Linked DNA regions of Homo sapiens: region 2 is linked to region 1. The links are contacts of gene promoters, found by promoter capture Hi-C in blood cells and fetal thymus (Javierre and others, 2016). All regions are on one chromosome and are shown on one strand. The core of a region is centred on a gene start or on the middle of the fragment in contact, and the rest is flanking DNA. Distances in the headings are between cores, read along the strand shown. Region 1 holds the start of PPP6C (protein phosphatase 6 catalytic subunit). Region 2 has its middle 110 kb from the start of GAPVD1.

Evidence for each region. The method cuts DNA at HindIII sites, captures the fragments that hold promoters and counts their contacts. A CHiCAGO score of 5 or more calls a contact.
Region 2: a fragment that was not itself captured here is called in contact with the fragment with the promoter of PPP6C in region 1 in 2 of 17 cell types (endothelial precursors and megakaryocytes); the score reaches 5.5 in endothelial precursors.

The regions. Positions count from the first base shown.
Region 1 is chr9:125,186,895-125,193,970 of GRCh38, forward strand. PPP6C (protein phosphatase 6 catalytic subunit) reads right to left here and starts at 2,909. Exons shown (of 7, transcript NM_002721.5): 1 at 2,750-2,909. The coding sequence starts at 2,824. RefSeq lists enhancers at 2,231-3,017, 3,018-3,804, 3,107-3,186. The HindIII fragment of the contact is 2,825 bases long and covers 735-3,559 here.
Region 2 is chr9:125,369,539-125,376,614 of GRCh38, forward strand. No RefSeq gene overlaps it. Among named protein-coding and RNA genes, the nearest start is that of GAPVD1, 110 kb to the left of the region's middle. RefSeq lists an enhancer at 1,540-2,040. The HindIII fragment of the contact is 3,508 bases long and covers 2,139-5,646 here.

The DNA of each region.
Region 1 (7,076 bases), core at 1,659-4,158:
TATCAAACTAAGAGGTACAAAGAAGTCCAACAGATTTTTCTTTCTTTTTTTTTTTTTTTTTTTTTTTGGTGAGACGGAGTCTCCCTCTGTCACCCAGGCTGGACTGCAGTGGCGCAATCTTGGCTCACTGCAACCTCCGCCTCCCTGGTTCAAGCGATTCTCCTGCCTCAGCCTCCCAAGTAGCTGGGATTCCAAGCACCTGCCACCACCTCCAGTTTATTTTTGTATTTTTAGTACAGACGGGGTTTCACCATGTTGGCCAGGCTGGTCTCGAGCTCCTGACCTCAAGTGATCCACCTGCCTCAGCCACCCAAAGTGCTGGGATTACAGGCGTGAGCCACTGCACCTGGCCAGATTATCTTTCAAATCATTTCAGTGCCCAATTTCCTTTTCTTTTTTTTTGAGACAGAGTCTTGCTCTGTCTCCCAGGCTGGAGTACAGTGGTGTGATCCCGGCTCACTGCAAGCAATTCTCCCGGGTTCAAGCCATTCTCCCTGCCTCAGCCTCCCAAGTAAGTAAACTGGGATTACAGGCACCTACCACCATGCTCGGCTAATTTCTGTGTTTTTAGTAGAGAGGGGGTTTCACCAAGTCGGTCAGTCTGGTCTCAAACTCCTGATCTCAAATGATCTGCCCACCTCAGCCTCCCCAAGTACTGAGATTACGCCACTGTGCCCTAGACACATTTTCATAAAAAGCAACATTTTATTCATCATAAACACAAAGTTCAAAAAAGCTTTATGCATGATAAATAAGAAGAAAAAATTCCATGTCAATTCACTGACATGCAATAGTCAACCTCACCTATGGGATTAATAATGCTACTAAGAGGTCTGGTTAGTTTTCCATGAATTGGGTCCCAATGCTAGTTGTATTCTTATTCCCTTAAAAAAACCACATAGCAGAAAGAAGCCACAAAAGGAATGTCTGAAGGACTCAGATGAGCACAAATGCTACATTACTACTAACGAAGGCTGTCCTTATTTGAAATTATTCTATTAAAAACGGGAAAATGCACAAGAATGACTCCCCTATCATATGCCACATAAAATTAACAGGTAAGTACAATTCAGTCACATTCACAACAGCACGTGTGGCCTCAAATATTATGCATACTTGTTGACTGATGTTAAGTATCAACTTACTGTACAAAGAAGAAATAAAACAAAACCCACAGTAATATATTTCCTTAAGAATACACTGAGTCGGGGCTGGGCACGGTGGCTTACGCCTGTAATCCCAGCACTTTGGGAGGCCGAGGCGGGCGGATCACGAGTTCAGGAGATCGAGACCATCCTGGCTAACACGGTGAAACCCCGTCTCTACTAAAAATACAAAAAATTAGCCAGGCGTGGTGGCGGGCACCTGTAGTCCCAGCTACTCGGGAGACTGAGGCAGGAGAATGGCGTGAACCCGGGAGGCGGAGGTTGCAGTGAGCCGAGATGGTGCCACCGCACTCCGGCCTGGGCGACAGAGCGAGACTCCGTCTCAAAAAAAAAGAATACACTGAGTCGGTTAAATACTAGCACGAGCTGATAAGCACTGCTAGAAACCTAAGCTCTGATTTCAGCAAATGCATAGAAACACTTTTCAAAGAAGCAGTATACCTAGGCCGGCGCGGTGGCTCACGCCTGTAATACCAGCACTTTGGTAGGCCGAAGCGGGCGGATCACTTGAGGTCAGGAGTTCAAGACCAGCCTGGCCAACATGGCGAAACCCCGTCTCTACTAAAAATACAAAACAGCCGGGCGTCGTGACGGGCGCCTGTAATTCCACCTAGTCGGGAGGCTGAGGCAGGAGAATCGCTTGAACCCGGGAAGTGGAGGTTGCAGTGAGCCAAGATCGCACCGCTGCACTCCAGCCTGGGTGACAGAGTGAGACTCTATCTCAGTTAAAAACAATAATAATAATAATAATAATAATAATTAAAAAGTTTTAAAAAAGAAAAGCAGTATACCAAAGTCATTCCTTTACCCATACATACATTTACTCTTACTTGGACTCAGGAGTAACAAGGAACTCACCTCCTTTAGAAAACGAAGAAAATGAAATACTGAGTTAAGAAGGGGTTAAGGAGAAAGTATTTGTATTTATTGAGAACCAACTACTTTATCCACTTCAGTAAGCTCAACAACATACTCAGAAACGGGATTCACCTCTGAATTAGCAAAACCGACGATCCTAAAAAGCAATTTGGAGGAGTGGCAATGAAGAGGGACGACCTGACGTTCGCTCCCGCCAGTACCAAACCACTCGGGCCCACCGCCTTCCCCTTCCTCAGAGACCTAAACACACTGAGGCCGCGTTCCGGTAGCCGGTGGCATCTCCTGTCAGACGCCGGCCACTCCGCGCTCCTGTCACCTCCGGTGGAGGCGACCCCATCCCGAGGGCACTGCCGCGGGGGCTCGGCTCCGACTGCGGGAGACCCAGGGATGGGGTGGGGAGCCGAGCCTTCTAAATAAAGCTGTTACAGCTGCGGGTCCTGGGGCAGCCCGAAGGCCAGAAGGGGCGACCCTGGGACAGAGGCCGCGACATCCCTCGGGATCCCCACTGAGGCAACCGGGACAGCATTCGACGACTCGGCTCGCGAGACCCTCGGCGTGACGCCGGGTAGGACCGGGTCGACTGGCAATGGGGGAGGCCCTCCACCGCGACTGGACTGGATACCCGGCGGGGGTCCTGGAGAAAGGAAGGGCCGGCCGGCGGGCGCCCCACAGCCGGAAGGGGCGAGCCCGCAAATAGGGCTCACCTTCAGGTCGTTCTCTGGCAGGTACTTGCACAGCCGCGCTATTTCCACATACTTGTCCAGGTCTAGCGGCGCCATTTTAAGAATAACAAGCCGCGGCAACAGCGGCGGCGGCGGCTGTAGCAGCGGCGGCGGCAGCGGCGGAGGCCGAAGCCGGAACTTTCCCTGCGTCACGTCCGGCCCGTGAGTGGCGCCTGCGCAGCGCCGTTAAAGCGCGACCCGTTTCTCCCCGCTACGTCGGTACGCCCGGCGCCCCCTCTGGCTGAACCCCGACTGCAGGCCCCAAGAGAGCCCGCTTCGGTCCACCCCGCGAAACCTGCTGGGACCCGTAGTCGTCTGCCGCGGGGGTGCTGGGATGTGTAGTTTTCTGTTGTGGACAGCCACCCCTCTCTTTTCCTCCCGTTCCTCCAGACTTTCACCTCCCGGCAGCCGGCGAGGCTTTTCCGAGGCAAAACAGCGGAGTAGGTGGTCCTAGCCACTCACTGGTTTGTTTTTCCAACCCTTTTAAGCACTCTCCAGAATATCTTCACTTAACAATTGGGTAAGCCTGGCCGTAGTAACCGTTTGCACCTTTCCAAGTCCCTGTGAAAACCTCGCCTAAGCCTGTGGCAGAGATGTCAGGCCCCAGTCTTCCAGCCTGAAAGGAAGGGAAACGAATATTATTAAAGCATTTCTGATGCTAAATGCGATACAAATGATATTTTTCCTTTTAATCTTCGTAACGATTGATAGGAAAGTGAGGCTAGGAAACTGCAGTTCACCCCAAATCTCACAGGGAACAAAATGGTGGGGTCAAGATTGAAAAATGGCTTAAGCTTAAGCATGCTTCCAGTGAGAATCCCACGAGGGCAGGGAGTTTTTTGCTGTAACTCCAGCACCGAGAACAGTACCTGGTACTAGCATACCTTCAGCGTTCGTTTATCCAACCACTCTTTGCTGAGCAACAAAGATGTGCCAGGTACAGCTCAAGGCGCTTGCAGTACTTCGTGAACAAAATAGACAAAGATCTCTATTCTATCTGTAGCTACAAAAAGTACCAAAATTAGCCTGGCGCGGTAGTGCGTGCTTGTGGTCCCAGCTACTCTGGAGGCTGAGGCAGGAGAACCGCTTGAGTTGGGAGGCGGAGGTTGCAGTGAGCTGAGATCGCGGCACTGCACTCCAGCTTGGGCGACAGAGCGAGATCCTCCTCAAAAATAAATTAGTAAAAGGAGCTGCTGTATGGGACTAGGGGTGGGGGTGCAATGCCTATAGCTAAGAGACCAGTTAAGAGACTGTTATGTAATCCAATAGTAGCAGGCGCTCAATAAATATTTGTTGCTCAAGAGACCCTGGAATTAATCCTCTTGCTCTCTAAAGTATATTTTGTGGACAATTGGCTAACCCTGAATGAGATATCTGGGTGAACTTCTTTGTATTATTCTTGTAACTCCTCTGAAAGTATGAAATTGTTTCAAAGTAAAATTAATTTTTAGAAGTTTGTTGCAGAATGAATGATGCCCACAAGCATTCATTTCTTCATTCATTAAACTAATAGTTACATAGTGCCTATTGGCCAGGCCGCGGTGGCTAATGCCTGTAATCTCAGCACTTTGGGAGGCCAAGGCAGGCAGATCACCTGACGTCAGGAGTTCAAGACCAGCCTGGCCAACATGCCGAAACCCCATCTCTACTAAAAATACAAAATACTGGGGAGGCTGAGGCAGGAGGATCACTTGAATTGCTTGAGGCAGAGGTTGCAGTGAGCTGAGATGGCGCCACTGTACTCCAGCCTGGGCCACAGAGTGAAACTCCATCTCAAAGAGAAAAGAAACCAGAGGTTACACAGTGCTTATGATGTGAATAAAACAGATATGATCCCTGCCCTAATCAGGCTTACAATCTGCTGGGAAGAGACAAACAGTATTTATTTATTTATTTACATTTACTGGTTTATTATTAATATAAAGGATATTACAAAGGATACAAATGAAGAGATGCATAGGGTGAGGTAATTAAAATTTTTGTTTTTGTTGAGGCCGGGTGCAGTGGCTCAAACTTGTAATCCCAGTAGTGAAGCCAAGGTGAGCAGATATCTTGAGGCTAGGAATTCAAGACCATCCTGGCCAACATGGTGAAACCTGATCTCTACTAAAAATACAAAAATTAGCTGGGCATTGTAGCACATGCCTGTAATCCCAGCTACTCCGGAGTCTGAGGCATGAAAATTGCTTTGAGGTGGGGGTTACAGGGAGCTGAGGTCGTGCCACTGCACTCCAGCCTGGCCAACAGAAAAAAAAAAAAAATTGTTGAGGTGAGGTCTTGCTGAGGCTGGTTTTAAATTCCTGGCCTCAAGCTATTCCGCTGCTTTGGCCTCCCAAAGTGCTGGGATTATACGTGTAAGCCACCATACCTGGCAGTGAGCAAATATTTAATTGCAAATTGTGATTAGTACTCAAAAGGGAAAATAGGAGGTACTATAAGCAAGAAAAATGGAGTAGACGAGGTCTACCTTTGGCTGGGCACAGTGGCTCACGCCTGTAATCCCAGCATTTTGGGAGACCGAGGCGGGCAGGTCTTTTTGAGGTCAGGAGTTCCTGACCAGCTGAGATCCCACCACTGCACTCTAGCCTGGGAGAGAAAGTGAGACCCTGTCTAAAAAAAAAAAAAAAACAAAAAACTACATTTTCTTACCTGTACTTGTGTCCTTTGGGGGAAAAAAAAGGGCCCAGCATGGTGGCACACGCCTGTAATCCCAGCACTTTGGGAGGCCGAGGCGGACGGATCATGAGGTCAGGAGTTTGAGACCAGCCTGGTCAATATAGTGAAACCCTGTCTCTACTAAAAATACAAAAAATTAGCCGGGTATGGTGGTGTGTGCCTGTAATCTCAGCTACTTGGGAGGCTGAGGCAGGAGAATTGCGTGAACCTGGGAGATGGAGGTTGCGGTTGCAGTGAGCTGAGATAGCGTCATTGCACTCCAGCCCGGGTGACAATGCAAGGCTCCGTCTTAAAAAAAAGAAAAAGAAAAAAAGAAAGAAAGAAAAAGAAAAACTTAGCCTGGTGTGGTGGCACGTGCCTGTGATCCCAGCTACTCAGGAGACTGAAGCAGGAGAATCACTTGAACCTGGGAGGCAGAGGTTGCAGTGAGCCGAGATCGCACCACTGCACTCCAGCCTGGACAACAGAGCGAGACTCCGTCTCAAAAAAAAGAGGCCTACTTTAGGTTGATAACACAGAGGAGGTAAAGTACAGGATGTAGCTTCTAGCACCATGTGGGCAGAGTTCAAATACAGGCTCTACCACTTATTGTGTGATTTTGGTTTGGAGAAGTTATTTATCCTTTCTGTACTCCAGTTTTCTCAGCTCCAATATGGAGATAATAATAATGCTTACCTCCTCTGGAGATTGTAAGAATACTACTTACCTCATAGGCTTGTACAAAGGTTTAACAGAGTTGGTATATGAAAATGGCTTAAAACAATGTCTGGGCCGGGCACAGTGGCTCATACTTGTGATTCCAACACTTTGAGAGGCCAAGGCAGGAGGATCACTTGAGCCAAGGAGTTCAAGACCAGACTGGGCAACATAGTGAGACCTCATCTCTACCAAAAAAAAAAAAAAATTAAAATTAGCCAGGTTTGGTGCTGGCACATACCTGTAGACCCAGCTACTCTAAAGACTGATGTGGGAGGATCACTTGAGCCCAGGAGGCCAAGGCTGCAGTGAGCTGTGATTGTGTCACTGTACTACATCAGGGTGACAGTGAGACTCTGTCTCAAAACAAAAAACAAAGACAAAAAAACATTGTCTAGCACAGAGTGAGTGCAATATGAGTGTTAACTCTGAGTATTAGGTGGGCAGGAAAGGCATTTCTGAAGGTGTAACATGTAAGACTTCAGAAAAAAAAATGTAGGAGGCTGGGCATGGTGGCTCACGCCTGTAATCACAGCACTTTGGGAGGCCCAGGCGGGCAGATCACTTGAGGTCAGGAGTTCAAGACAGGCCTGGTCAACATGGTGAAACCCCGTCTCTACTAAAAATACAAAAATTAGCCAGGCATGGTGGTGCATGCCTGTAATCCCACCTACTGGGAAGGCTGAGGCAGGAGAATCGCTTGAACCCGGGAGGCAGAGGTTGCATTGAGCCGACATTGCGCCACTGCACTCCAGACTGGGTGACAAAGCGAGACTCCATCAAAAAGAAAGAAAGAGAGAAAGAGAGAGAGGGAGGGGAGGGGAGGAAAAAAAGGCAGGACAGGTGCAATGACTCATGCCTGTAATCCCAGCACTTTGGGAGGCTGAGGTGGGCAGATTGCTTGGGCCCAGGAGTTCGAGACCAGCCTGGGAAACAT
Region 2 (7,076 bases), core at 2,643-5,142, 180 kb after region 1:
TTTCAAAAAAGTTTTTCAGAGATGGGGTCTTGCTTGCTATGTTGCCCTCTCTGGTCTTGAACTCCCAGGCTCAAGCGATCCTCCTGTCTCAGCTTCCCAAAGTACTGGGATTACAGGTGTGAACTGCCATGCCCAGCCTCTCCAAGAGAGTTTGAGAAGCACCAGGAGAGCTTGCACTTGATGAAGAATGAACCAGTGGCCCGCCTACCCTCATCGCCCACCTGGGGAGGTTCATAAAACCACAGACTCATGATCCCACCCCATACCCATTGAATCAATTTCTGGGGAAGATGCCAGGAATCTGCATTTCTAGCAAGCTCCCCATCTCACTGAAACTCATGAAAATGTATGATCCACTGTGAAAGTGGTTAACTCCTAAACACTTGGCTTCATAGCTCACAAGGGTAATAAGCATGAATGGGGAAGCCCCTTTAAAAGAATGAGAATTGTTAGCCTACAGCCAATCCAATGATTCCTTTAAGGATAGCTCTTTTTATATGCTTAGAATGAAGCATTTTCTTTACTCATAACTGCCTGTTATGTAACGCTGTTTCCTTAGCCTCAAATTGCTAAACATTTCCAGAGAATCATGGTGTTCAATGACATACCCAAATTTATGTATGAAAAATTCTTAGAGTCTAATCTTTCTGTGTTTAAGCTTTTAAAATGTTTTTTTGTTTGTTTGTTTGTTTTGTTTTTGGGTTTTTTGTTTGAGATGGAGTCTCACTCTGTCACCCAGGCTGGAGTGCAGTGGTGCGATTTCGGCTCACTGCACGCTCTGCCTCCTGGGTTCAAGTGATTCTCCCACCTCAGCCTCCCGAGTAGCTGGGATTACAGGCATGTGCTACCATGCCTGGCTAATTTTTGTATTTTTAGTAGAGACTGGGGTTTCACCATGTTGGCCAAGCTGGTCTCAAACTCCTGACCTCAAGTCATCTCCTGCCTTGGCCTCCCAAAGTGCTGGGATTACAGGCGTGAGCCACCGCGCCCAGCCAGTTGTTTCATTTTGATTGTTTTGTGACCATTCATAACTGGTGTCCCATGTAAAATAACTGCATTGGTTCCCACAGCCCTTGACCTCTGACTTCACTTTTGTTTCCCCAGTGCTGCCTCTGCTGAAAGTAAAAGAATTTCTCCTCTTCTACTTCTCCTCCCACATTTGATGTGTGGACTTCCATGCCTGGGTTCCCTCCCCTAGGTCCCTTTACATTTTGATCACTGGCGACCCTATTTTCCTTTTCGTGTGGCTGTGGCGGTGACAGCAGAGGCTGCATCTGCTGCTGCTGCTTTGGGGCAGCATGCTGTGAGGAGAAGAGTGCAATGGAAGGGGACAGATGACAGGAAGTGCTCAGGGCCATCCGATTGTCGCAGCGTCCTCAGGGATGCCCCTGCCACAAGCCCCTCCACAGCTAAGTGGGCCATACCAATGAGCCTGAACTAGTCCTTTCCCTCCCTGGGCCACTCCCGCCATTACTGAAAAGCCACAGGTTCCCAGCGGTGTTTGGTTATGTTGCTAGGCTCAGGAACTGGAAGATGGATCTAATCTGAGCTCTGTCTCTAACCAGACCTAAGGCAAGTGGCAACTCCTTTGAAGGCGTTTCCTGATTTGGGCTTTATTACCTCACGGATCCCCTGCAGTTTTACCATCTACATAAAATCTTGAACTATTTCTCCTGTACTGGCCTTTAATGGAGGGGGTGGTTAAAGTGCAGGGACACAGTGGAGGCTGCCAGGAGCACGGGGGTGTCCGGAACCCTTGATCAGGAAGGCTGCCCACTGAGCTGACTCAAGAGGGGACTTGATAGTCTTGCCACTGAACACAAGTTCAGGCCCCAAGCTGCTTTTTGTTTTTTGAGACGGAGTTTCGCTCTGTTGCCCAGGCTGGAGTGCTATGGCGCGATTTTGGCTCACTGCAACCTCCACTTCCCAGGTTCAAGCAATTCTCCTGCCTCAGACTCCCAAGTAGCTGGGATTACAGGCACATGCCACCATGCCCGTCTAATTTTTGTATTTTTAGTAGAGATGGGGGTTTCACCATGTTGGCCAGGCTGGTCTCGAACTCCTGACCTCAGGTGATCTGCCCGCCTTGGCCTCCCAAAGTGCTAGGATTACAGGCATGAGCCATTGTGCCTGGCCCAAGCTTCTTTTTAACCTGGTATATTGTGGGTGAGGAGACAGGCCAGGGAATCCTGGAAAGGTGCCTCCTCTGACACCGGTCAGCAGGGCAGTTGCCAGGGAGGGCCTGCGCTGGACTTGCCAGGAGCACAAGGACCACCTGTGCACAGGGCAGACACTCAGAGCCCTTTTTGGTGGTTGTTACTATTTATCTTTTTTTTTTTTTTTTTTAGACAGGGTCTTGCTCTATCACCCAGGCTGGAGTGCAGTGGTAAGATCATGGCTCACTGCAGCCTCGACCTCCCAGGCTCAAGTGATCCTCCCACCCCAGCCTCCTGAGTAGCTGGGACTACAGGTGCATGCCGCCACGCCTGGCTAATTTTTTTGTATTTTTTATAGGTGGGGTCTCGCTATATTGCCTAAGCTGGTCTTCAACTCCTGGGCTTAAGCTATCCTCCTGCCTCAGCCTCCAAAAGTGCTGAGATTACCGGTGTGAGCTACCGCGCCTGGACATTATTAATCTTTTATTGTTATAATAGCTTAATGGGAGAAGAAAAGATTGTGGTCTATGCATGTATGAAAATTAAGAAGATCATGTTGTAGATTGATTTGCAGGATTTTTTAAAGGCGCCCTGCCTTTTTTCCTCAGCGGGGTTCTTGAGCATCCATCGGTGATCGGTGGTCGCTTCTCGCAAATCTTCTGTTTCATTTATTTTGGTTGCTAAGTAGGGAGATCCACCTTTATCTGGGTGATTCAAAATCACGATTCTCCTGTGAGCTGCTCTAATCTTAGCCTTGCCAGCAGGTGAACTTACACCTAAAATAACACTAGCTTTTCTCCTACTCATTTTCTGTTCAAATCCTCCTTTGTAATAGGATGACAGGCTAGGAGTTCAAAGGTTCTCTACTGCTTCTGTGATCCTTGTTCTAGAGGTTTCCAGGACTGCGACGCACAGCGACCTGCAAAGGCAAGAGCAGCAGCACCCAGCCCTGCAGCTGTCACAGTTCTTGCCAGTCCCTGCTGGTTGGTATCTGCGTCTGACTGAGGCATTTGGCCAAGGGCGGCAAGTACTCAGTGGGGTGCAGCCCCTTGATGGCAGGGGTGATGCCACCATGGACAGCCAAGAGAACCCATTTTTTTATTTTATTCTAGATTCAGGAGGTACCTGTGCTTGTTTGTTACATGGGTATTACATGCATAATGATGGGGTTGGGTTCCTAGCCTACCCATCACCCAAATATTGGACACTGTACCCAGGAGGCAGTTTATCAACTAACAGGCTGGGTTGTGAGCTCAAGTCCCTTTCCACTGTGGTCATAAACAGTAACCACAGTGGAGTGATTCCTGACACATGATGCCTTTCTGGGTCCAGATACTTTCATCCCTATGTGCCCCACCCTACACGCCTCTTTGTCACTCATGCCTGCCGCTGCCCAGCCTTCTTCCCTGGCCCAGGCTCTGGATTGCCCAAACCTCCTGAGGGGCCCTTGGCAAATGTCTCTTTTGTGTTGTGCGTGTGTGTGTGGCAGGGTCTCACTTTGTCGCCCAGGCTGGAGTGCAGTGGCACAATCTCGGCTCACTGCAACCTCTGCCTCTTGGGTTCAAGCGATTCTCCTGCCTCAGCCTCCTGAGAAGCTGGGACTACAGGTACACGCCACCATGCCTGGCTAATTTTTGTGCTTTTGGTAGAGACAGTGTTTCACCATGTTGGCCAGGCTGGTCTCGAACTCCTGACCTCAAGTGATCTACCCGCCTTGGCTTCCCAAAGTGCTGGGATTACAGGTGTGAGCCACCGCGCCTGGCTGGGAAATGTCTCTTAAACCTGTCCCCCGCTGCCACAGCCAGTTTTTCCACCTCCACAATCACGACTGACTCCTAGTCTCCCTGCCTCCCTCTCACCCCTTCTCCTAGGTGCCCTTAGAATTCATCAAGTCTGGCCAGGCACGGTAGCTCACACCTGTAATCCCAGAAATTTGGGAAGCCGAGGTGGGTGGATCACCTGAGGTCAGGAATTCGAGACCAGCCTGACCAACATGGAGAAACCCCGTATCTACTAAAAATACAAAATTAGCTGGGCGTGTTGGTGAATGCCTATAATCCCAGCTACTCGAGAGGCTGAGGCAGGAGAATCACTTGAACCCGGGAGGCGTAGGTTGCAGTGAGCCAAGATCACGCCATTGCACTCCAGCCCGGGCAACAAGAGCAAAACTCCACCTCAAAAACAAACAAACAAAAAAATTCATCAAGTCTGAGCAGATTCCTCTTCTGCCTAAAATCTTCTCTTTTCTACCTGGGTTCTGTCCTGCCTTTTCAGCCACATGCCTCTGGTCCTTCTCCTTCCCCTCCAGCCAGCCCCACTCCAGCCACTGAGAACTATCACCTTTCCCAAAGTGCTGCCCTTTGCCGGCCTCTAAGCCTTTGCTGATGCCCAGATCTGACTGCCTCCCCCACAGTCCTTCCTCCTGCCTCAGATGGCCCTTCTGGAGGAAAACCCCAGGTGCCCCCTCCTGCCTCCCTCCTCAGTGAGGCCTCACCCCCATCCCTCCCTCTCCAGAGCAGTGTCTCCCTGGAGCCTGTGCTCCTAGGGGAGGGCATGCCTCCAAATGGCAGGTGTCCCTAATGTTTGCAGATGGGGATGGATGAGAGGCAGAAAGTAGCCCTTCAGGGCGGGGATTCCACCATCTTTTCCTTCCAAATTCAGGCCCTGCTGGGACAGGAACTATCCCTGTCGTGGTCCAGGGCCAGGTAGTTCTTCACGTCCTCTGGGAAGACAGAGTGCCCCAAAGCCCTTGATCTCCAGTGGGTAGAATTAGGTGGGGCAGAGGCTGTGCCACACCAGGTCACACCTCTCCTGTGTCTGCTCCCACCCCACCAAGCACAGGGCCGGGATGAGGATGCCTGGAGCCCAGCTCAGTGCCTGCCTGGGTTGCAGCCCTGATCACACCAAAGTGTCTTGTCTGTTTGCAGCCCTTTATCTGGCTAGCAGGGTTTAATTTTACTCTGGGAAGGTGGGATTTTTGTCCCTATTTACTTATTATTTTCGAATTTATTATCTTTAGGTGGCATCTACAAATCGGCGTCCTCTGAGGGCAACAGCGCCCCGTTCTGCTAGAAATCCCGAGATTTGCAGCCACTGCAGCACGCTGCCTCTGCGGCTTCTCCGCACCATCCCCGACCCCTTCCCCCGCGAGTCTGCCGTCGGCCAGTTTCCTCCCAGGCCCCGGCTTTGCTGTTCCTTGGGTGACATCTTGTGGCCAAGGACAGGTACAAACCATTGGCTGAAAAGGAGGAGCAAAGGCAGCCCTCAGCCCTCTCTGGAGGAGCCTTGGGGCGCCTTCGAGGATGCCCAGGAGGGCAGGGGGCTCCTGAACAGGGAATCGGCTCTCAGACCCCGAATGGGCTTGCACCAAGCCCTTCATGAGACAGCTGTGGCTGGAGCCCAGAATTCACCCAGGCCCCCCGAGGCAGACACACCAGGTTCCTCTCTGCCCACCCTGCGTTGTGGCAAATAATCATTATTCCCGATATAAAGCTTTTCTCTAGCAGCCCAACGACAAGGTTATTATTCCAATCTTACAGATGCAGCAACAGCCCTGAGCCACAGCCAGTGACCTGAGCCCAGCCCACAGGTGCCAACACTGTAAGATCTCACTGGACACAGTCCTGAGAACTGTGGGAGCCACCTGTCCCATTCTCTGGGAAGGTGCTCTGGGGAGGCGCCTGTGTTGTTAGTCATGGCCATGCCTCGAGTTCCAAAACCTTCTTCATGGCCTGGCATGGTGGCTCACGCCTGTAATCCCAGCACTTCGGGAGGCCAAGGCGGGCGGATCACTTGAGGTCAGGAGTTGAGATCAGCCTGGCCAACATGGTGAAACCCTGTCTCTACTAGAAACACAGAAGTTAGGCCGGGTGGTGGTTCACACCTGTAATTTCAGCACTTCGGGAGGCTGAGGCGGGCAGATCACCTGAGGTCAGGAGTTCAAGACCAGCCTGGCCAACATGGTGAAACCCCATCTCTACTAAAAATACAAAATTAGCTGGGCATGGTGGCGCGTGCCTGTAAACCCAGCTACTTGGGAGGCTGAGGCAAGAGAATCACTTGAACCCGGGGGGTGAAGGTTGCAGTGAGCCGAGATCTCGCCATTGCACTCCAGCCTCGGCAACAACAGTGAAACTCCATCTCCAGAAAAAAAAAAAAAAAAAAAAAGAAACACAAAAGTTAGCCTTGGTGTGGTGGCGTGCACCTATAATCTCAGCTACCTGGGGGGCTGAGGCAGGAGAATCGCTTGAACCTGGGGGGTGGAGGTTGCAGTGAGCCGAGATTGCACCACCACACTCCAGCCTGGGTGACAGCGAGACTCCGTGTGCAGGCCCGGGGCTGACGCTTCCCACATGACGTCACAGAGCCTTCACCTGGTAGTGGGCATTGTAAGGGCTGCACTTCACAGATGAGGAAGCCGAGGCTCAGACATGCAAAGGGGTTTATTCAAAGCCACATAGAAAATGCATGGCAGAGCCAGGATCCAAATCCAGGTCTAGAGGATGCCCAAATCTGTACTTTTAGCTACTGAGGGATCCTGTCTGCCCTCTGCAAAACCAGCCCCACAGCATTGTGAGGGCTCATGTGAACTGGGGAGCAAACTGTAGAGGATGGTGCCCACAGCAGGTCCTTATTATCCTGATCCTGGTGTTTACTTCCCATGTGCACTCGAGTCCGTCAAGGGCAGGGCCAGACACCCGGGCATCTGTAGTGCCAGCATGAAGCCTGGTGCCCAGCCGGCATCAGCAGATCAGATTGAATTTGAGCTGCCAGAGCAGGGAAGACCTGCTTTTCCACACGGGGCCCAGGGCCACTTCCCAGTGTCAAGGTCATGGTAAGGACAGACCGACAGTCTCCACCTCCTGATTCAGGAGGAGAAGGGGTGGGTGACCCACGCCTCCTCTTTGCAGCAGGCTGGCA